Linked DNA regions of Homo sapiens: all the other regions are linked to region 5. The links are contacts of gene promoters, found by promoter capture Hi-C in blood cells and fetal thymus (Javierre and others, 2016). All regions are on one chromosome and are shown on one strand. The core of a region is centred on a gene start or on the middle of the fragment in contact, and the rest is flanking DNA. Distances in the headings are between cores, read along the strand shown.

Evidence for each region. The method cuts DNA at HindIII sites, captures the fragments that hold promoters and counts their contacts. A CHiCAGO score of 5 or more calls a contact.
Region 1: a fragment that was not itself captured here is called in contact with the fragment with the promoter of OTUD4 in region 5 in 6 of 17 cell types (total B cells, total CD8 T cells, total CD4 T cells and 3 more); the score reaches 10.4 in total B cells.
Region 2: a fragment that was not itself captured here is called in contact with the fragment with the promoter of OTUD4 in region 5 in 2 of 17 cell types (M2 macrophages and M0 macrophages); the score reaches 6.8 in M2 macrophages.
Region 3: a contact is called between a fragment that was not itself captured here and the fragment with the promoter of OTUD4 in region 5, in 3 of 17 cell types (fetal thymus, activated CD4 T cells and total CD4 T cells). The highest score is 7.6, in fetal thymus.
Region 4: a fragment that was not itself captured here is called in contact with the fragment with the promoter of OTUD4 in region 5 in 10 of 17 cell types (non-activated CD4 T cells, naive CD8 T cells, total CD4 T cells and 7 more); the score reaches 14.7 in non-activated CD4 T cells.
Region 6: a fragment that was not itself captured here is called in contact with the fragment with the promoter of OTUD4 in region 5 in 2 of 17 cell types (non-activated CD4 T cells and total CD8 T cells); the score reaches 7.4 in non-activated CD4 T cells.
Region 7: a fragment that was not itself captured here is called in contact with the fragment with the promoter of OTUD4 in region 5 in 1 of 17 cell types (fetal thymus); the score reaches 6.8 in fetal thymus.

What each region holds. Positions count from the first base shown.
Region 1 is chr4:143,544,885-143,547,956 of GRCh38, reverse strand. SMARCA5 (SNF2 related chromatin remodeling ATPase 5) reads right to left here. Exons shown (of 24, transcript NM_003601.4): 18 at 2,374-2,487; 19 at 1,910-2,032; 20 at 1,049-1,181; 21 at 454-572; 22 at 1-29. Among named protein-coding and RNA genes, the nearest start is that of SMARCA5-AS1, 32 kb to the right of the region's middle. The HindIII fragment of the contact is 399 bases long and covers 1,525-1,923 here.
Region 2 is chr4:146,287,904-146,291,053 of GRCh38, reverse strand. All of the region lies in intron 9 of SLC10A7 (solute carrier family 10 member 7), which reads left to right. Among named protein-coding and RNA genes, the nearest start is that of REELD1, 75 kb to the right of the region's middle. The HindIII fragment of the contact is 607 bases long and covers 1,544-2,150 here.
Region 3 is chr4:144,167,265-144,170,765 of GRCh38, reverse strand. The region is part of intron 9 of LOC105377460 (a long non-coding RNA gene); the gene reads right to left. Among named protein-coding and RNA genes, the nearest start is that of GYPA, 28 kb to the right of the region's middle. The HindIII fragment of the contact is 901 bases long and covers 1,726-2,626 here.
Region 4 is chr4:143,528,640-143,532,013 of GRCh38, reverse strand. It overlaps SMARCA5 (SNF2 related chromatin remodeling ATPase 5), which reads right to left. Exons shown (of 24, transcript NM_003601.4): 8 at 3,300-3,374; 9 at 1,488-1,556. Among named protein-coding and RNA genes, the nearest start is that of SMARCA5-AS1, 15 kb to the right of the region's middle. The HindIII fragment of the contact is 500 bases long and covers 1,875-2,374 here.
Region 5 is chr4:145,179,300-145,182,595 of GRCh38, reverse strand. It overlaps OTUD4 (OTU deubiquitinase 4), which reads left to right and starts at 2,007. Exons shown (of 21, transcript NM_001366057.1): 1 at 2,007-2,781. The coding sequence starts at 2,623. LOC124900794 (a long non-coding RNA gene) reads right to left here and starts at 403. Exons shown (of 2, transcript XR_007058294.1): 1 at 1-403. RefSeq lists silencers at 1,601-2,000, 2,091-2,320, 2,441-2,900 and enhancers at 1,246-2,075, 2,076-2,905. The HindIII fragment of the contact is 3,984 bases long and covers 286-3,296 here.
Region 6 is chr4:143,500,686-143,503,958 of GRCh38, reverse strand. No RefSeq gene overlaps it. Among named protein-coding and RNA genes, the nearest start is that of SMARCA5, 11 kb to the left of the region's middle. The HindIII fragment of the contact is 1,117 bases long and covers 1,349-2,465 here.
Region 7 is chr4:146,943,067-146,946,054 of GRCh38, reverse strand. TTC29 (tetratricopeptide repeat domain 29) reads left to right here and starts at 191. Exons shown (of 13, transcript NM_031956.4): 1 at 191-346; 2 at 978-1,024. TTC29-AS1 (TTC29 antisense RNA 1) reads right to left here. Exons shown (of 7, transcript NR_188447.1): 3 at 501-624. RefSeq lists a silencer at 59-198. The HindIII fragment of the contact is 2,093 bases long and covers 474-2,566 here.

The sequences.
Region 1 (3,072 bases), core at 475-2,974, 1.6 Mb after region 5:
TGATGAAAAGGTGCTTTGTACCGTCCAATCTATGAAAGTCAGATTTTATATTATATAAAATACAAATCCTATATAATCTGTATTTCAAACTCAGCTTTAGTATAATTAGCTAAAATGTTGCATTTCAAATCAGAATTTTCTATCTAGAGCACTTCAATTGCTTTATATAATCTTTGTCCCGAAAGACCTTTATAGTCTTTATTATTATAAAGAGAAATACAGACTAAGACTTCCTGATTCTACTTAGTAAAAAGCTAATCTTAGTGTCTTTGACTCAGATCTATCAGTCTAGTGTATAGGTAAATTCTGCTGACAATACCATGTTTGAATGCTACTCTGAAGAAATTTTAAATTGTAAACCCTTACTTCTTTTCCTTTATAAAAAGTCACTCTCTCATACTCACAGCTAGGAGTTATTTTATTAACTACCTAACTTATTAACAAGCAAATTACCTTTGTGTCAAGTGCTTTCTTGATGCTTATTCTTCTTTGAATTCTCGCCTCTCCCCTTTCAATCTGAGCCATAATCTTCTCTATGTCCTGGAGCTCGTTGCACCTTTCCCAAAACACAGCTGTAAAAGTTGGACAAAGTAAACAAATCATTTATATTTTTATTTCTTTAATGTAAAAAAAATGGGATCAACTGGATTATTTATCTTCTAATTCTTAAATTTCTGCTATTCTAAGCAGACTCACCACAGCATACCCTCACATGTTAACCTAATAATACAACTGACTTCAGGAAACACAACACATAATACTTGAAGTTATGCAGAGAAATTAAGATAAAAATGCAAGGGCAATTATCCAGTGACTTATTCTGATTTTCTTTGCTGTCGCTAGAGTTAGCTAGGGTTAAAAAATTTTTAAAAAGGAAACCATTACGCCATTTCTGGAAACAGAACATTTTCTAATTTGTAAAAAATAATGAAGAAGGTACTAACTACACTGTGACAAAATTAGCTAATCACAACATAATTCAGAATAAGAAAACAAGAACCTTCCAACAGCTCTTACTAAACTCCAACAGCCTGCTTAAAAGAATTACCTGAATATTCAATGACTTCTTCTGGAGTTTTGCCTTCTACTTCTCTTGCTATATTTTCAATATCATCACGACCCCACTTCTCATTAGCTTTGATAAACTGGTTAAAATCTCTCTTATTCCAATTGGTAAATCCCTTCACAGGAACAGAAACAAAATATTTAATCACAGCACATTAAACTTGGAAAACATGCTATTAGCAAACCTTCTAAATATTACAAAAACAAATTTTCACTAGTTTATTAAGTTCTTTTAGAGTGGTAACTTTTCGTGTACATAAATATACACTTTTGACAACACATTATATATTGCTCAAATACCCAAGCAATTAAATATGAGTGGCTGAGAGTAAGGAATACTGTATGAAAAGGTGACAGTTTCACTGAGCTTTGAAGGATTACTAGCAGTTGGCCAGAAAGAGTGAATAACATAAAGGGCAAAAATATGAGCAAGTAGAAAAATGGAAGGAAAATGAAGCTTTAAAGGTAAGTCAAAGGCCAGATTCTGAAAGACCTTGATGAACACCAAAGGATGTTTAAAAAATAACCAAGCCAAGATTTATAGTTGAAAATGGTGACTGGGTAGCAATGTGGAAAATTCATAGGAAAGACGGGAACATTCAAAGTAAGGTGATAAAAAAGATACCCACTCTACCGAGCCAGAGTAATAAAATCTGTAGTCTTCTCAACTACCTCAACTAGTGACAATCAGATGGAGCATTTATCCACATGCCCATACTTTATTGTCTCCAATTATTCCATCTTTAAAAGCAGAAACTTGTATTTATTTTTATGCCCCAACATAACCTAACACAGTCCTTTACAACAAACTGTTACTAAAGTTTGTACTGATTAAAGGCTATACCTGTGTTAGAAGCTTCTCTTTTTCCTCTAACTCTTCATCATTAAGGGATTCAGCTTCATCAATTTTAAGCTGTTCTTCTTTTTGTGCCTGTGCTGCATTAGGCAGCTCAGGATTTCGAGGTACCTAAAAGATATTTTTCTATGCCATCAAATCAGTAAATTTTAAAGAGCATGTGATGAACCAACTAACTGACATTTCACAAGTTTCAATTCAACCAGGAAAGAAAATATACTGATACATTGCATGTATTATGTTAAAAACAAACCAGATTGGTCATGAAGTCTTATTTTTTCTTGTTAAAGAAAAACAGACCCAAGTTTATGTATTTCATACATACAACTAGACTAGGCTAAAGCAGTATTGTTTCACACTAGGTCCAAATTAGATAAATATTTATAACTAATGTTTATACCTTCCATAATTTCTGGATAGGAATGAACAGAAAGGCAGATAATTTCAATTACCTTGTACCCAATAGTTTTTCTGTAAAACAGAATTTCTTTTTCCAGTAATTCAAATAAACGTGGAGGAAAGAACTGGAAATCCTGAACATTGGGTTGTTTTGGAGGTCGAGGAGCCTAAAGAAAAACAAAAATAAGTGTTATCCATAAAAAAGAAATTTCATTTTAAATGTATCCTTAGTCCTCACTTCATAAACCACAACAGCCAATTCTGCAAGCAACTGAATGCATCTTTCAATAAAACTGAATTTATATCTTAATTTTAAATGCACAGATTCAAAATTAATTTTTGAAAAATGTTAACTAAAAACAGAAGAGAGTACACTCTAAAGAAATGCAAAATGTAGGAAAGAGGCAGTGGCTCACGCCTGTAATCCCAATACTTTGGGAGACCAAGGTGGGCGGATCATGAGGTCAAGAGATCAAGACCATCCTGGCCAACATGGTGAAACCCCATCACTACTAAAATTACAAAAATTAGCCAGGGGTGGTGGTGGGTGCCTGTAGTCCCAGCTACTCGGAAGGGTGAGGCAGGAGAATTGCTTGAACCCGGGAGGCGGAGGTTGCAGTGAGCTGAGATCGCACCACTGAACTCCTGGTAACAGAGTGAGACTCTGTCTCAAAAAAAAAAAAAAAAAAGAAACACAAAATCTAATTATCAATCTTTTTGCAAGAATATATGAAAAAAATTACATTTTCAAA
Region 2 (3,150 bases), core at 598-3,097, 1.1 Mb before region 5:
CTGCTAAAGGAGGCATGGGTGGCAGAAGTGTGACACCTAGTTGAACTGAAATTAAGATTTATGGCACGGAGTAGACTGGACTTTCATAAGGATCTGTAATTTTGAAATCCTTCTTTTCTTGCTTATTCTGCATTCACTGAGGTTCTGTCAGGGTTTTTGTTTTGTTTTGTTTTGGTTTGGTTTGGTTTGGTTTAGAGACAGGGGCTTGCTCTGTCACCCAGGCTGGAATGCAGTGATGCCATCATAGCTTGCTACAGCCTCAAACTCATGGGCTCAGGTGATCCTCTTACCTCAGCCTCCTGAGTTAGCTGAGACTACATGCAAACACCACCATGCCCGGCTAACTTGTAATTTTTTGTAGCGACAAGCTCTTGTTATGTTGCCCAGGCTGGTCTTAAACTCCTGGCCTCAAGTGATTCTCCCACCTTGACTCCCCAAAGTGCTGGGACTATAGGCATGATTCACCGCAACTAGCATCTGTCAGGTTTTTAACTTCCTTGACTTACAGTCAAACCAGCACTTTCTTTGATAAACGACAGCATATAGCTTGAACATTTCTCCCTCTCTGCACCCCCTCCCCGCCCTGTCCCCTGCCATAGTCATCTACTAATGATTTACTTCGAATTTGTCTGAAGCCTAAATTAACTCTCACATAGCCTCATTCTCTGTTCTCAAATTCCTGGCTTGCCTGGAGAATATCTGTACCTTTTTTTTTTTTTTTTTCTTTTTTGAGATGGAGTCTTGCTCTATCGCCCAGGCTGGAGTGCAGTGGCACAATCTCGGTTCACTGCAAGCTCCGCCTCCTGGGTTCATGCCATTCTCCTGCCTCAGCCTCCCAAGTAGCTGGGACTACAGGCTCCCGCCACCACGCCTGGCTAATTTTTTGTATTTTTAGTAGAGATGGGGTTTCAGCATGTTAGCCAGGATGGTCTGGATCTCCTGACCTTGTGATCCGCCCACCTTGGCCTCCCAAAGTGCTGGGATTACAGGCGTGAGCCACCACGCCCAGCCCAAGAATTTCTGTACTTTTAAAAAAATCTGGCTGGGTGTGGTTGCTCACGCCTGTAATCCCAGCACTTTGGGAGGCCAAGGTGGGTGGATCACGAGGTCAGGAGTTCAAAACCAGCCAGGCCAACATGGCGAAATCCCATCTCTACTAAAAATACAAAAATTAGCCCAGCGTGGTGGCGTGCACCTGTAATCCCAGCTACTCCAGAGGCTGAGGCAGGAGAATCGCTTGAACCCGGGAGACGGAGGTTGCAGTGAGCTGAGATCACGCCACTGCACTCCAGCCTGGGTGACAGAGCAAGACTCCATCTCAAAAAAAAAAAAAAAAAAAAAAAAAAACTAATAATCAGAGATGGGGCATTAGCTTTGCTACTTTGTAATACATTACTTTTTACTTTTCTCTGTCCTAGTTGCTAGGAAATGAGTTGATTCATCAAGCCAAGAGTCAGCTATCCAATGACCTAACCATTCTGCAACTTTGGGAAACTGCAAATTTAAAAAAAAATAAGCAACACACACATACATTGAAAAAGCTTAGAAAAGGAAAGCAGTAATTGGAAATCTTTTAAAAATATATAAAAAGTTAAAAAGTTTGGTAGGCTGATAACTAGAGTAACAGAAACCTATATTGTCATTAGAGTGGCAAAAGAAACTGTTAATGAAGGAAAAGGAAGAAAACAAATATTTGTATATGTGTTTTAATTCTGATCAGTACATTTCCAGTGAGATATCTCAATCTGCCTTTCACCATAGCCCTGGGAGAAGCAGGATGGGAGAATGGGAAAGGGAAGCAGGCAAGGAAGATGGCGATGATCATTAATGGTAAGTTTTCTTACCATTTCAGAGGAGGCAACTAAGCCTTGGCACCCTGGGTAGCTTGTTCAGTGCCACCCAGCTAATGACGGAAGAGGTCTTCTCTGAAAACGAGCAGAGACAAAACACAGGTACAGAGGTTAACAAAGAAGAGGCCTCACTTGGAAGTTTCCTCCTCTGAAAATAGTGGGCTTAGACAGAAGTATCTCAAAGGACCTTTTCTGTTCTACATTCTGTGATTCTACTAGTAAAACCTGACATGTTTTCCTCTGTGGGTACTGCAAAGGAAGGCAAAATAAACATTATGTGGAAAACACTGATTGAAAGCTTTGTAAGAAAGAATAAAAAGACCAGTTGGGAAGAAAAGGAAATAAATATCTCAAGAGAAGGCAAAGTGATCAAAAGAATCATTAAAAACAGGATAAAAAGAAAATCAATATTAAAAAGAGATAAGGTAGAGTTAGAAAATAAATAGTAATGTGATTCCTTTCAAGAATGTGAGCAGACCCAATAGAGATGTTAATCAGTGAGAATAATTTTAGTCATTACTACTCAAATATGATGTACAGGACACTTGATTTTTCTGGGTCTTGTCATGACCTTGTACCATGAAGTCCCCCTTGACAGAGTATGGCTAAGGGTGGATTATTTACCAAGATAGCTGCCCTCACCCATTACATTTTGTAGTGTTTTTGGTTTTAATATTGTCTTTCTCAAAAGGGCAAACTTATGACCAAGGTTTGGGGCAACCAACTTACTAGTTGTGTGACTTTAGGGGAGTTGCTTAACCTACTTGTGTTTCCAGTTCCGTTTTTGGAAAAAGCAGAGCAATAACACTATCTGTTTGTATGGCTTTTCTGAGAAGGAAGTAATACTGGCTGCAACGTGCTTAGAAAAATGCTCAATAATGCTTATGCTGTGGTAATTTACCACCCTCCTGAAGAGAGGGTTAAGTGAGCATCTGCTCTATCAGCTTTCCCCGATACAGCGCTCCAGTCCTACATAGCTAGAGTACAAGTCAACCCTATTGAGGAGGAATATTGTTTTTAACCTTAAATGTTCCCTTTTTATGCCTTAAGGTTCTAATCCTCCTTCCCACTCATGGACTTTTTGTCGATAAGACTGTAGAGCAGTGTTACTGAGAGCAATGAGCCAGAAATCTCCCAGTGTGGCCCTAGCTTTAGCCTCCTTACCTGAAACAGAGGACAAGTAAGCGTATCTTGCAAATATCCTCTTTAGCCACATTGTGAATGCTGCTCTAGTGAGCAGCAGCCAGCGCCAGATTAATTCAGAGCCTCCTTGACCAGAGAGACTGTGACACACTGGAAA
Region 3 (3,501 bases), core at 927-3,426, 1.0 Mb after region 5:
GCACACCTGTAGTCCCAGCTACTCAGGAGGCTGAGGTGGGAGGATCGCTTGAATCCTGCAGGTAGAGGCTGCAGTGAGCTGTGATCACACAACTGCATGCCAGCTTGGGGAACAGAGCGAGACCCTGTCTCAAAAAAAAAAAAAAAAAAGACGGTTATTGAATCAGTTTAACTAACACCCCAATAGCTGCCTTAGTTGAAATATCTGACTTTACTCTTATCTCAATTTCTGCTAAGAGCTTCTTACAGTTCTGCTTGTCAACCTTGTTACTTCCCTAATATCTGTTTATCCTGTAGACAGTATGGCTCCACCCTGCTGCACAGCCTCCAGCAGCTTACCAATTGTCTATGGGATGAAGCCCCAAACCCTAACATCATGATCTCACTGCCCATACCTTACAGCCATATCTCTTACTATGACTCTCACCTCTCACTTTATACTCCCCAGTCATACTGAATTTCACTCCTCAGAACAGTATGTAACTGTCTCTTTTGAAAGAGAGGTCTCTATTCAAAAGCCTCTTCATCTGCTCCTGCACGCAGCTTATGAATAATGCCCAAATTCTTGCATTTCACCTATCCCTGCTCCTCCAGACAATGCTAATTGACTTTTGTTGCATGTTTAATATAGCAGGAGGACGTATAGTTTATAGAGAATAAACCTGGGCCATAATGACAGACTGCCTGGGTTCAAATCCTGGCTCTACCACATGTTTAGAAAATAATACATATCTCATAAAATCATGATGAGGAATAATATATTGCCCACAAGAAGTAACTAGTACAATGCCTGATATGTAGTTAGTATTCAATAACTTATAATGTCAGAAGCAAGAGTAACATAAGCAAGGGAGTAACAATGTGATAGGCATCCCATGGTATTATAATCTAAAAATAAATGTATTATCTTTGAGGTCAGCTGGCTCTCAGGGCATGTAGAGACTCACTTATGTTTGTTGCTCCAGCAAGCCACCGAGTTTCTGTCCTCTGACCCAAGACTGCAGTCAAAACAGGGGAAAGAACAGGGATATTGGGATCTGTAGTCTTAAAATTTTATGAAATATTACCAGTCTCTTGGAACTCATTTTAAGGAAATTGGAAGTCTATCACTAAAAATTACCCTTGGCTATTTGCTCATTGATTATTTGAAACAAGCAATACAACTGCTCCTCTAACTGGGGCATATTTGGAAGAAGGGTGAGAATACCATCAGAAAATTCTGTTACTGGCATCATAATCACATTCAGGCATGAGAGATAATAGGGAGTTCCACAGTCACATGGGGGAGCTTTCATTTCCCTGGGGGAATCTGGATATTTGCTGATTTCTTCTATGGCAGCTAACTAGATTATAAGCAGGAAAATGCCATGGAAGTGGGGAGGAAGTATTAACACTTTTAGAGCTTTTAGCGGTTAGTCAGGGCTGGCATAACAGGTTAAGACTAGAGCACCAACCGCAAAGCCTGTTTTCCCCAAAAGACACTTGCTGAGTTTCAGAATGGCGCAGTAGGCTGAAAAGCTAAATTGGGAAAAACAGCAAAATCCTACCAGAGAGAAGGGACCTGCAATAAAGCATATTAATATCTTTCTCAAGACATTTCCACTGAAGCTGCACACTTAGGAAACTAAAAAGCTGAGGTCAAGATTCTGCATATGGGAAAAAATGTTTAGGCATGCAAAGTGGCAGAAAATGTGGCAAATAATCAAGATTTTTAAAAATGAAAGCTTATGGTTGTACACCTAGAGTGTGAATGCACTTAATGTTATTGAACTATACACTTAAAATGTTAAATGATAAAATTTTGTTATATATATTTTATGATAATAAAAACATAAATAAAAACTGAACTACAGATATCTATATATTGGAACCAAGAGACAAATACATTAAAATAATTATGATTAGCATATTCAAGAAAGCAGAGTGAGTTACATAGAATAAATGAAATAAGTAGAATTTCTTTTTTTGTTTTTTAAATAATTTCAACTTTTAGATTTAGAGAGGACAGGTGCAGGTTTGTTACATGGGTATATTGCATGATGCTGAGATTTGGGGTATGATTCATCCCATTATCCAGGTATTGAACATAATACTCAATAGTCTGTTTTTAAGCACTTGCCCTCTTCCCTTCTCCCCCTTCTAGTAGACTCCAGTTTCTGTTCTTGCCATCTTTATATCCATGAATATACAACGTTTAGCTCCTGCTTATAAGTGAGAACATGTAGTATTTGGTTTTCTGTCCCTGCATTAGTTCACTTAAGATAACAGCCTCTGGTTGAATCCATGTTGCTGCAAAAGACATGATTTTGTTATTTTTAAATGGCTGTGTAGTATTCCATGGTGTATATGTATCACATCTTATTTATTTAATCTATAATTGATGGGCACTTAGGTGGAGTCCATGTCTTAGTTATTGCTAATAGTGCTGTAATGAACATAAAAGTGCATGTATCTTTTTAGTAGAATGATTTATTTTCCTTTGGGTATATACCTAGTAATGGGATTGCTGGATTGAATGGTAGTTCTAAGTTCTTTGAGAAATATCCAAACTTCTTTCCACAGGACCTGAACTGTTAGGTTGATGCACAAGTATAATAATTTACATTCCCACCAACAATGTATAAGCTTTCCCTTTTCTCTGCAGTCTCGCCAGCATCTGTTGTCTTTTGACTTTTTAATAATAGCTATTCCGACTGGTGTGAGATGATATCTCATTATGGTTTTGATTTGCATTTCTCTGATGATTCCTGATAAGGAATATTTTTGTACGTGTTTGTTGGTTGCTTGTACATCTTCTTTTGACAAGCTTCTGTCTTTCACCCATTTTTAAGGGAGTTATTTGTTTTTTGCTTGTCCAATTGTTTAAGTTTCTTACAAATCTGGATAGTATACCTTTGTCAGATACATAGTTGGAAATATATTCTCTCATTCTGTAGGATGTCTCTTTACTCCATTGATAATTTATTTTGCCATACAGAAGCTCTTTGGTTTAATTAGTTCCCACTGGTCAATTTTTTTCTTGCAATTGTTTTTCAGGACTTAGTCATAAACTATTTTCCAAAGCTAATGTCCAGAATGATGTTTCCTAAATTTTCTTCTAGGATTCTTATAGTTTGAGGTCTTACATTTAAATATTAGTAGAATTTCAAATATAATTGAAACTTATAAAAATCAAATGTGTATTCTGAACTGAAAAATTTAATATCAGCATCAAAGAACTAATGATATAGGTTTGACAGCAGCCTAGACACAGCAGATAAGATTGTTAAAAGTCATTACATAGTAGCCAAGCTGAAGCACAGTAAGGAAAAAAAGAATGTAAAAAATGTGAGCAACAATAATTAAAAGGTCTAATGTATGAAAAATTGAAGTCCCAGAAGGAAAAGAGAGACAATATTTGAAATCATAATCAAGATTTTTCCAAAACTGCAAATAATATGAACCCAAAATTTAAGAAACTAAGAAAATACCAAAGAAAATGACAAGAATATACATCATAATC
Region 4 (3,374 bases), core at 875-3,374, 1.7 Mb after region 5:
ATCCAGTATGGAAAACACTTGTGAATCATCTCAATATCCTCTGCAAAGTCCTATAATATTAGGATGCTCAGATTGTTAAAGATGGAATACACAGAAGGGCACCTAGGCCAGCCTCAGCCTGGCTGGTTCAGTGGAGGTGATGTCGCTGAGTCTTGGACTAGGTATTAGTAAAGAGACCAGGAAAAAGGATTCTAGGTGTAGCAAAAATGATAAGCAAAAATAGATTAGAATTACCACAATGTTTACAGAAAACTGACAGTGGGGTCAGCAATCTATCAAATTAAAGCTCAATATATGAAGAAGTAAAACAGATGCCAAAGAATGTTAAAAAGGTTAGGTCATGGAGGGGCACAATTTTGTTCCCCAGGGGACATCTGCAATGTCTAGAGAAATTTTTGGTTGTCACAACTGGAGGAATGTTACTACTGCCATCTAGTGAGTAAAAGTATCAGGGATGCTATTAAACATGCTACAATACACAGGACAATCACGTTCTCCCCTCTCTCCTTACCCCTCTCAGATATACCCAGACCAAAATGTCAAAAGAGGCTGAGAATTCCTGAGTTAGGTCATTAAGGGCTTTATATAACATTCTTACAAGCTCCTGCTTTAACCTGCTTAGCAGGGTATTTTAATCTGGTGTCTGTTAGAGAAGTTTCTCTACCTACCAACTTTTACTTGTGAACCGTCACAGGAAGCTGTATGTAGAAACAAAGCTATACAGCAAGCAAAAACATACCAACTGTGCTCATAATGCAATATTAGCAGTTGTTTATACACAATGTAGCTAGATTTAAGAAAAAACAGATGGATCTTTAGCCCTTTCAAAAGTGAACCTGTTAGATTCTTCCATGGAATGTAAATTGAACTAAGCTTTAAAAACTTGTCTATTAAGGCCGGGCGTGGTGGCTCATGCCTGTAATCCCAACACTCTGGGAGGCCAAGGCAGGCAGGTTGATAACTTGAGTTCAGAAGTTCGAGATTAGCCTGGGCAACATGGTGAAACACTATCTCTACAAAAAATACAAAAATTAGCTGGGCATGGTGGCCAGAGCCTGTAGCCCCAGCTACTCTAGACGCTGAATGGGGAGAGACTGCTTGAGCCTGGGAGGCAGAGGTTTCAGTGAGCCAAGATCATGCCACTGCACTCCAGCCTGGACGACAAAGTGAGACTGTCTCAAAAACAACAACAAAAACTTGTCTATATTAATTATTATGCAATTCTTCTTCCCCCCACTGTATTTTGTATAACTGTAAGAGAATACTTTCTCCCTTAAGTCAGGATTCCATTCTAGGTTCTAACACTGAAACAACCACACATCACCCCCTACACTGATTGTAAGATGTAAGAGTTAAGTGTCAGAATTCAAGCAGATCTGATTCTTAAGCCATTGTGTTTTTTATTAACAGGAAAATAATCTACTAATTTAAACCTTTATCCTTTTTCCCATCATAAATATGCTTTAACACTACTCCAAAATACTTACCATATGAAGCCTCTCAACTAGTTTTTGATCCCCAAGGCAGTTGTTTGTATCAAACCAGGAATCAAAGTCCTAGATAAACAAACAAAAAATATACTCAGATCAGAGATAATATTAACAAATACCCTATAATACCAGATATAGAAATGATTTCTAGAATTAGTAATTTGAATTGTAACCCACAAAAAAAAATCACTTAGTCCAATCCTGGTTTTCATGTGTCATTGTTACTAATTTTAAAACAAGTAGTTCAGAAATCACACTACCTTCTAAACATTCTTCTCAAAAACATCAAAATAACAAGTTTCACAGTAAAAAGTTGGAGAGCAAGTTCTATAGGATTAGAAAATTAATATTCTTGTAAAGTATCTTTCAAGTTTCATAAAAGCTTGAAAATTAAAACATTTTATAGTTTGTTCTCTGAGACCATTCGCACTACTCAAATACAAGTTTACGAACAATGTCAATTTTAATCAAACTTACTAAATGAAATTGAAATTACCAGCATTTCATTAATATTTGGTTACGATTTCAACAAGGGCAGTTTCCCTAACCTCATCTCTTGAACATATGTATTATATATGTGCTTTGTTTTTGAGTAAACATAATCTTAGAATTCACTGCTTTAAAGTAAATGAAAGTGTCAATGTAGTGAGAAACAGGAATTATCTCAAAAACATCAAAATACATAAAATCGAAGCTAAAATTGCTTTTGGAGTCTGATTAAATATCTTTTTACAACACAATCTATTCTTTCAAAACAATCTTCAACAGAAAAAAAACAAAATTAATTAATACCTTTTTATAACTTAATTGTACAAAAATATACTAACATGGAGCTCTTCAAATCCCTCCAATACACATAAGACGCCAGCTATGCAAACAAAGCTTCAAAAATAAACACTGGTCCAGGCAAAAAAAACTGCAATTTCTAATAGCACAAACTCTTGACATAGTTATTATATTACTATTAACAGTTCAAATAGCTAATTAACCATTACTATCCTTTCTATGACTATAAATAATCCATAAAGATTAGGTTCTATTTGTTTGTTAGACTATAATATAAGAAAAGCCAGACAGATTTCACTAAATTTGACAGTCATCCTTGGGACTTAAAACATAAGCAATGTGAGGTATACAAATCACTTCAGGAATACCTTGAGCAGCACCTTAAAAACATAACCAGTCAACCTAGAGCCACTGAAACAAAGTCAGGCCAACCTGACTTACCAAATAGGAGTGACAATTTATGCCATTTCAGATAGAGAAAACAATGATTTAAAGAAGACTGAGGCCTGGTGTGGTGGCTCGTGCCTGTAATCCCAGCACTTTGGGAGGCTGAGGCAGGCAGATCGCTTGAGGCCAGGAGCTTGAGACCAGCCTGGACAACATGGCAAAACCTCATCTCTACAAAAAACACAGAAACTAGCCGGGCATGGTGGCACACACCTGTGATCTCAGCTATTCGGAAGGCTGAGGCACAAGAATCACCTGAATTCCGGAGGTGGAGGCTGCAGTGAGCCAAGATCACACCACTGCACTTCAGCATAGGTGACAGAGTGAGACTACGTCTCAAAAAAAATAAAATAATAATAATAATAATGAAATAAGATTGAAACCAAAGGCACAAAAGTAAATTCCCATTATACAGAGACAACCTAGGAGATAACACCAGGCTAACTATGTAAATAAAAGCATAAAAAATTAATAATAACCTCAAGCCATGCTAAAAGGCAGGCCACTTTTATTACAAAAATATATAGCATTAAGCAAAATATTATTATTAACCAGAAAGCACCAGGAAATACTTACATCTGCTGAATTAAACACATCTGGCAACAGAAAGTTAAGAAGTGACCACAGCTCATGCAAGTTGTTCTGAAGAGG
Region 5 (3,296 bases), core at 758-3,257:
AGTGAGTTTCTCTAAGTTTTGGTGCAGTTTAAAGACATAGGATCCTCTAATATTGCCTTAACGCTGAGCTATATTTGGGAAGTTGGCATACAGAGGGTCTGTCTTGGATTAAGTCTCAAAATACCTAAAGGATTTCCTTAAACAGGCCCAGGGTCAGATATAACAGGTGCATCACTTCTAATTTTGGAACCAGAAGCAGCCAGCTTAGAGTGAGGTTGTTCTACATTCATTCAGCAGGAGTTTAGATATTACTTTGAGTTTCTCTTTGAGTTTAAAAGGCAAGCTTTTAAACTCAAAAACAAGGGCGATCCATGTTTTAAGTAGTGGCAATACTCAGGAATTTTTTTTTTTTTGAGAAGAATGAGAAGTATATGCAATGTAAGTGTATTTTAAAAAGAAAAGCAACAGGTTTGACTTGAAGCTATATTTTTCTTTTCCGTTTTTTTTTTTTTTTTTTTGAGACGGAGTTTCGCTCTTGTTGCCCAGGCTGGAATGCAATGTTGGGATCTCGGCTCACCGCAACCTCTGCCTCCTGGGTTCAAGCTATTCTCCTGCCTCAGCCTCCCGAGTAGCTGGGAGTAGCCTCCCGAGTAGCATGTGCCACCACGCCCGACTAATTTTGTATTTTTAGTAGAGACGGGGTTTCTCCATGTTGGTCAGGCTGGTCTCGAACTCCTGACCTCAGGTGACCGGGCTGCCTCGGCCTCCCAAAGTGCTGGGATTACAGGCGTGAGCCACCACGCCCAGCTGAAACTATACTTTTCTAAACCTGATTTCAAAGTGTTTCTTCGCTACAACAAGTAAATTTGAGGCAGGGACATTTTTTCATTTAGGTAACGATAACGTTTGTATTCTCTAAAAGCAGCATAATTTGAGATACAATATTTAAACATTAAGAAATCAAAGACGCTCCAAGGAAAGTGAATACATGACTGATTGCTTGCACTGAAAATACTGAAAAGTGTCTAACGTAGTTTTTAAAAAATTTTTGTCGTTGGACTCTCACCACCTGGCCTGCCTTGCCCCCCATTCCAAGGTATTTGACTACATGTCTAAACCTATAGTAATGCTCCCTTTTCTTCTCCCTCTCCTCCACCATAGCCTAAAAGACTGAATTAGTTCCTATGATTAACCATGTATTTAAATAAGGACACCAGATGTTGTATCTTAGCAAAATAAAATTTTGGTGCAACAGAAGCATGCTGGATAAATTCTGGGTTCTAAAGCATAATTTAACTTTGTCAATTCCCTGCCATTCAACGTCGGAGGGTGGGAAGTTGAGCTGAAGCCTCGAGCACTGGTGGAAGCCATGGCCAGTCCAGTCAGCATGTTATCAAGCAATTTACAAGATGAATTTTTTAAGGGGGAAAAAAAAACCCTAACGTCTTCCGACAGTGACATGTCTCTGTGATGGGGTGCTCAGCTACAGTGACAGGGTGAACAAAAATGTCTTTGGCAAAGCCTTCATCTTGCCGTAGTACGTGAGCTGTACTACTAATAGCAATCAGCAGTCCACGGTTGATTTATGGACAGAGTGTGTCGTCCCGCACCGTGCCAGTTCCCGGAGCCTCAGCCAATTAGCTCTATTTTCTGCTTAAGCCGTTAAAGCCACCTCCATGGAAACACCAGGAGAGCAGGCCGGGGGGAAGGGAGCAGACAGGTGCGCCCTCTGGAAAGAAATACACAAAGGGCCGACACTGCGCCGCCGTGTCCCTGGCAACTCCACGCCAGCCCGGCGCGCGCGATTCCCGCGGCGCAGCGGCAGGGTTGGCGGGTGGCGCGCGCAGGTCGCCCCACATCGGCCGGCGGAGCCCCTCGGCCTGCTCGCGGACGCGGCGCCAGTGCAGCGCGAAGCCGGCTTGGGGCGGTGGCGGTGGCGGCGGCGCGCCCGCGCTGTAGGGACTTGTAGTCCGCGCGCCTCCCGGGCACCTCCCCCGGGTAGGCCGGCCAGCGCGTCCCCGCCCGCCGCAAGCCGACTTCCTGCGGCTGCCAAGACTACATCTCCCGCCGTCCTCTCCGCTGTCGGGCCGAAAGCGAAAACAAATTCTGGGCTGCGAGGTGCTGTTCTCTCCCGGGCGCCCCCACCCGCTCCCTGCCCCTCCGGCGCCCTCCAGCGAGGTGGGGAAACGAAAGGCCGCGTCTTTCTTTTTGGTTTCCTCGGCTCCCGGCGTGGGGAGTGCGCGGGGGCGCAGGCCCCGCTTCACCTGAGCCGGCCCAGCGTGCGCGCCAGGGGCGGGGGTTTTCTCGCTTCACACCGGTACGGAGGAGGAAACTTGTGGGGGCGGCGACCCCCGGCCTGGGTCCTGAGTCAGGCAGCGAGGCCGTCGGGAAGTGACTACTCACTCTCGGGGTTTTCCTTAATCCCGCTCCCCCCGTTTGTCGTGGGCGCGTGTTCGCTCCGAGGAGGCGGCCGCGTGCGGACAGCCATGCATTAGGCAGGGCTTCCCTATGCGCCCGGAGAGCGCGGACCGCTGCCTCGGGCCGCCGCCGCCTGCCGCCGCTCGCGGAGCCCGAGCCCCAGCCCGAGCCGCCGCCTGCCCCAGGCCGGGGCGTCGAGCAGCCGGCGGCCTGGCCATGTGGGGCTAGCCCTCGCCGCGCCTGGCCTGCAGCAGGACCAGCAACATGGAGGCTGCCGTCGGCGTCCCCGACGGCGGGGACCAGGGCGGCGCGGGGCCCCGCGAGGACGCGACGCCCATGGACGCCTATCTGCGGAAACTGGGCTTGTATCGGAAACTGGTCGCCAAGGACGGGTCGTGCCTGTTCCGGGCCGTGGCGGAGCAGGTAATTGCGGGGGGGCGGGGAGGGCTTCGAGGGGAGGCGGGGACGGCCCGGCGGGTCTGGGTGGGGAGGCAGCTGCGGGCTGTCCGGGCCGCCCACGGCCGGGGCTGCGCGTGCCCTGGCTGTCGTCACAGCGCCCCATTGTAACGCCGGAGTGGGACGCTGCTTTGCGTCTGAAAGGTGCAAATTGAAACTCGAAAGCCCGCAAATTAACGGGGTGTCTCTCTCCTGATGAAGAGGTAATGAGTTGAGGACAACTTGTGAGGCCTGCTCGGAGCTTGTACAGTTGATTTATTGCTGGGGACCTGGCGACATGATATTTTTTACTTTTGTTCCGCATTCACCTTCCTTCCCTTCGTTTGAGAAGCACCACGCTCACCCCACTCCAGTAAACCAAGTGTTTACTAGAAGTGGTGGATCAAACTTTACTTGTGGAACATATTTTGGTTTGCTGCTGGACTTTGGAATGTAGGGTAGGCAAGCTCGCCCATGTCACTTGAATCAAATGGGCAAACTGC
Region 6 (3,273 bases), core at 658-3,157, 1.7 Mb after region 5:
CTGTGAAGAATAAAGGGGCCAGGCATAGTGGCTTATGCCTGAAATCCCAGAACTTTGGGAGGCCGAGGTGGGTGGATCACAAGGTCAGGAGATCGAGACCATCCTGGCTAACACAGTGAAACCCCATCTCTACTAAAAATACAAAAAATTAGCCAGGCGTGGTGGCGGGTGACTGTAGTCCCAGCTACTCGGGAGGCTGAGGCAGGAGAATGGCATGAACCCAGGAGGCAGAGCTTGTAATGAGCCAAGATCGCACCACTGCACTCCAGCCTGGGCAATAGAGCGAGACTCCATCTCAAAAAAAAAAAAAAAAATACATGAATAAAAATAAAGGGAGGAAGCATGAGTAAGGAGGGAGTGACTTGAGACAGAGAGGCAGAACTAACATTTGTAAAGACAAGGGAAGGATGGAGGATTATGAAAGAAGAATTTCAGTTTGTAGCAGAGCTCTGAGAAAGTTTTGGCTGGGCTGATGGGGCATCTTTAAGCCAAAGTTGCTCATTAGATGAGTAGTATATTCCATGAGAGTGTTCCTGCACTAGTACCACTGCCTGCTGGGAGTAGCCTGAGAAAAGTTGGCCCTAAGCACAAATATGGAGTAAGTGGGGAGTAGGGATGAGAGGATGGAGGGATGGGGAGGTGGATCCAGAGGGGCTACAGCTGGGGCTGCCATAGTAGATCTGAGTGTCATAGCTTCATGGTCACCACAAGAATATATACACATATTATAGAAAGACAAAGAAGTATACTTTCAACAAATTCATCATCTTTTAAATTTAACAAATTTCAGCTAATTTTACACACACACACACACACACACACACTATACAATCTTCAGGGTGAAAAATAAAACATATATTTATCATTGAACCCTGATTTTGGACTCACAGAGATCCCAGGTACTCAGATACAATTTAGATGAAAGAAGATTTGTATTTTGATGATGATAGTGATGATAATGATAATCATAACTAAAGTTTATTAGTTGCATGTAGTGTTTCAAGTTTTTTATGTTTTGACTCATTGGCCCTCACATTAGCCCTTGTGAAGGGGGTAATATTTGTCTCCATTTTGCAGAGAAACAGACATAGAAGATAGAGTGGCTTACATAGTATTATACAGTCAATGTGTGATATGGCAGATTAATTAGACTAAATTGCATAAAAGTAAAAGATGAAACCTGTAGCTCAAGGATGGTAGCTTATTGAGATCGTGGAAATAAATGAAGGTCACCCAAACAAGAACAAACAGGTGCTATTTATTCAGAACTTGTTATATTGAGGGACTTAGCTATCGTCACTTGCTCTTGGCAAAGTAGGACAGTGGTAGAGTGGGAACTGGAAAAGCTTTATAGTATTGTGCTCTGAGTAGAGCTCATTCACATAGAGGAACTGGAGGCAGGCTAAATAAAAATAAGACATCTAGGATGACTGGTTTGGGAAGTATATTTGGCTTTCTCTGGTTGATCCTGAATTGAAAGTTGTCCTGATGCAAAAAATAGGGAAGTAAGCAGTCATTGACCGAGTTGTGACCATACTGAGCTGTTGCTGCAGAGGTTGTGGTATAGCTCCTGCTGTGGTTTGAATGTCTGTGTCTCCTCCAAATTCATATATTGAAATTCTAACTCTCAAGTTAATGGTTTTAGGAGGTAGGGCCATTTGGGAGGTGATTAGGTCATAACACCTCCACAGAATGGGATTAGTTTTCTGATAAAATAGGCCCAAGGGAGCTCGTTTGTCTTTTCTACCATGTGAGGACACAGTGAGAAGGCTCCATTTGTGAACCAGGAAGCAGGCCGTCACCAGGCACTAAATCTGCCAGCACCTGGATCTTGGTTTTCCCAGTCATCAACACTATGATAAATAAATTTCTAGTTTTCTTTTTTTCAGTCTACACAGTTGATGGTATTTTGTTATAGCAGCCCAAAGGGACTAAGATAGTTTCTCCAACTAGTTGCTACAGACATTGTGTGTGACAATTCTGTTGTCGTATAGAGTCAGTTTGTATATTCAGTCCCTCAAGGGGAAAATCACCCAACTTATCTTAATAATTCTGCTGACAATAGTTTGCGTCTATTTAATAGTAATATCAATAAAATGCTATTTAGGTTATCTTAAATGCCAATAAAATTTAACATATTAATGTTTAATTTTTAATAAAACATTTAATAAAAATGTTTAATAAAAAGTATTAAACAATTAAATATATAAATTATATATACACATATATGTGTATATGCTGTACCATTTGTACATATGTATATATGTACAATATATATACAATGTATATACACACATATGTATACATACTATATATGTGTGTATGTATATGTAGTGTATGTAAATACAACAGTGAAGAAGCCTAGTTCCATGAAAACTCAAAAGGTTAGTGCCTCTGCTAGTTCCTATATTAAATTTTACCTGAGAAAGTGTTTTACAATGTGTGATTATGACCAACTGAAAGCTTCAACAACCATTCTCCAGTACTCTCTCAGTTAACTGCGCATCTGGCCATCCTGAATAAAGTCTTCATTTCTCATCCTCGTGCTGCCAGGGGTGGCCATGTATATTAGTCTGTTCTCACACTGCTATAAAGAAATATCTGAGACTGGGTAATTTATAAAGGAAAGCAGTTTAATTGACTCACAGTTCCACATGGCTGGGGAGGCCACAGGAAACTTACAATCATAGTGGAAGGTGAAGAGGAAGCAAGGACCTTCTTCACATGGTGGCAGGAGAGAGAAGTGTGAGTAGTGAAGAGGGAAGAGCCCCTTATAAAACTATCAGATCTTGTGAGAACTCACTCACTATCATGAGAACAGCATGGGAAAGCTAACCCCAAGATCCAGTCACCTCCTACCGGGTTCCTCCCTTGACACATGTGGATTATGGGGATTACAAGTCAATATGAGATTTGGGTGGGGACACAGAGCCAAACCATATCACCATGTGAGTGAAGGATGAGTGCAATTCTTCATGCTTCACTCAGATAAGAAAGAACTTCTATCTGTGTAAGCCACTGCTATTTTGAGCCCCTACTGCATATCACTAAACTACATTCAATAATACCAAGTTTAATTTTTATCCTTTGAATAATGCTAGCCTTTGAGACTGTGATTTTCAAAACTAACTGAGAAAACACTATTTAGAAACAGAGACTCAAAAATGTTTTTATACATACAGCAGGTTCCCTTTAATGGAAAACAAAAGGACATCATTGACACATAAAATTCCTACTTCTCAAGCATCCAACAATTTTCTTTTTAAAATTAAT
Region 7 (2,988 bases), core at 271-2,770, 1.8 Mb before region 5:
CTTCTGAAAGCAGCCCTGCTTGAAAAGCCTCAGCTATCTGGGGGCCCCGCCCGGCCGTCAGTAAGCTCCACCCCTCGCCAGACTCCGCCCCCAAGCCCGAAGAGTCTGGGAGCTGCCCCAATCCCGAGGCCCGGTTTAGCCTAACTCCACCCCCGGCCGTCATGCCTCGCCTCTCTGTTTCCGTGGAGACGCTCTCGGCGTCCCCTGTCTCCGCTCCGGCGGAGCCAGGCTTCGGAATCACTGAGAGAGGAGGGGGCAGCGCCAACGCCCAGCACCTGCCGCCGGTGGGGGACTGACTTCGGCGGAACGGAAAACTGGAGTTGTTTCCCTGGGCCAGTGCACCGAGGTTCGTGACGGCAGGGGCGAGGTTGGGACCGGACTTCCTCAGCTCCTTGGAGAGGCAGGCTGTTCTTCAGGCAGCCCCTTCCCTGACCCCTACAGCCAGCCCTTCCTCCATCAGTCTTTCTCAAGCTTCCTCAGTCCAGGCCCTCGCCACTTACCTCAATAAACGAATTGAAAGAGAAGTAGGGAAAGGCGCCAGTTCCTCTTGCTCCCCAGTTCACCTGACCCTCTGAGGGGAGTGAAAAACTAGGCATAGGATAAGTCCTTTAGTCCTGTTGAGAACTAGGTGGGAACAGAAAGGGAACTGAGATGCTCTCCGTTTTTGGCAAAGATAACTGTATCTCGTAAATTTGAGAGAACAAATGGTTATCCCTAATGTCACATTTGTATTGAAATACATCAATACATATACATATTTCAGATGTTTTGGCATTTCACTGATTTAGTGATTAGTTTCTCTCATAGGATCTATACTTGGGGATTTTCTTTAAAAGTTCATCTAAACTTAGATGGTAGGAAGTATTTGTTGTAAGAGTGAATCTTATTCCATGACTTGGAGCGGGGAGAGGAGTTACACTACTGAATGATTTTAAATTTTTCTTCTTTGCTATTATTCTTTGCTTCCTGATTTTCAGGCTGAAGTCTATAAGCCTGGAGAGACCATCAGCAGTAATCTGCAAATGTAAGTCACGTGAAATATGGCTTGCCTTCAAACTCATTTCCTGCTTGATTTTGTGATTTAGCCATCAATGTCAGCTGGTAGGAAATGTGTGTTTTCTATTTATTTTACTAAACAACCTATCTACCCATGAGAGAGTGCCAGAAGTGTCCAAAAATTATGATACCGAGAATAAACATTATTACTGACTCTTTATAAACTTAATTATGTTTTTTTTTTTACTTAGGGAGCATAATTAGTGATATTTCTTCTGTAGTTTTCATTAAACTTTCATAGTAAAAGAGCTTGGATAATATGAAAAGTTTTAATTCTTATGAATGATTTTTAGTAAAATCCTACTTGTTTTGAACTCGTGATGATGTATAATAAACTTGCTTACTGTGGTTTACTGGCTTTATTTCTCTAATCTCAGTTTTTACTCCAAAGTGACTGAACCCTGCAGACACTGGTCAGCCTCAGACATAGTCATTCTCCAAGTAGCCTCCATTTACATAGTAGTAGGTCTCCCTCCTTTGTGTTTCCTGATAAAGGCATCTCTGGGGATAGAGGGCAGGAGAGTTACTCTTTGAAGAATTTTACTTGGGGGCCAAAAATTTAAGCTCACACCATGGGACACATTCAGCCTGACCTAGCACTCTCAAACCTTTCATCCTGTATTTCTCCATTTTCATTTGTCTTTGCATGTGGGGGCCAAACTTAGAGATTGTAGCTGTGATACAAGAGCCAACCAGCAGATCAAAGAGTACACCAAATTTCTTCTGAATACCAACAGTGGAATGGCTTCAGGCGGCCTTTTGATCTTTGTCTCAGCACCCGATGATGCCACACTGTAGCACTGCCCACTTGCTAGCACTGGCGGAGGTTCCTGTGGGTCCTCCTAACAGGCTGATTCAGCCTGAGCTCCTGGGGCTAAGCTCATTTGGTAGCAGCCAAAGAGGTATCTTTCATTCTTCTTCTTTCTTACTCACCTGAACCTGAGCAATTTCCCTTCCTGCAGCCACACCATCTTGTGTGTTTTCCCCTGAGATGTTGATCTGGGAGAACCCTAAGGAGGTGCCATAACTAGTGGTGATATGCTCCATTTATGCTACAGGCCTGGGTCAGTCACCTCATAGCACTAGTCCCATTCTTCATTGTTGAGTCTAAATTGGAGCTCACATGGGAACTGAGAATGCTGTCTGACCAACACCAGGAAAATGATGCAACTCATATTAACAAAGACCAAAAGGCTTTCTTTACAGGTATTTAATTTAATGGAAGTACTGCAAACCCTGCTTGAACTTGTAAGGCATAAAAGATGGCAATTACTTAGATAAGAAACTAATTTGTTACAGGACCCCTTTAAATATTTGCTGCATTCAAAATATTAACTCTGTCATAAAATTCAGATCACACATTATCTGTTGTGTAAAACAAAATACCTTATGTGGCCACGTATTGATTCTGAGAAACAAAATTCACTTTCCCGATGGGCATAGGTAAGGTAGGATGTGGGGTTCAGAAACAAAGAGAAAGCCTGTTCAACTTCCATCCTGACTCTAAGCTTAAACTGTCCAACATAGATTGATTGAGGGATATTTTTTCCAACATGCTTTTTTTTTTCCACTTTATCATTCAGCTCTGATAACTTTTTTTCCACTTTATCATTCAGCTCTGACCACCCCCCATTCAGAGTTTGTGCCTTGAGGCTTGCCAGCAGGGCTTGCAGTACTTACATTAAACTAAATTTAAGAGTAAAGGTGCTCCTGCTGCTAATGTTCTCAGATCAGAGGAGAGCAAAATGAAGGAACTGGCAGCTGAAACTTTAATGGTAGGAAACGTTGACTCAGAATTTTGAAAAAAAAAAAAAAAAAAAAAAAAAAAAGCACAGTTGATCTGTATGACAAAGAAGACATATCCCTCTCCATGTATGTCATTTGCATTTGGTTTCTATTCCATGCTTACATTTTCTAACAAAAATCATCGAA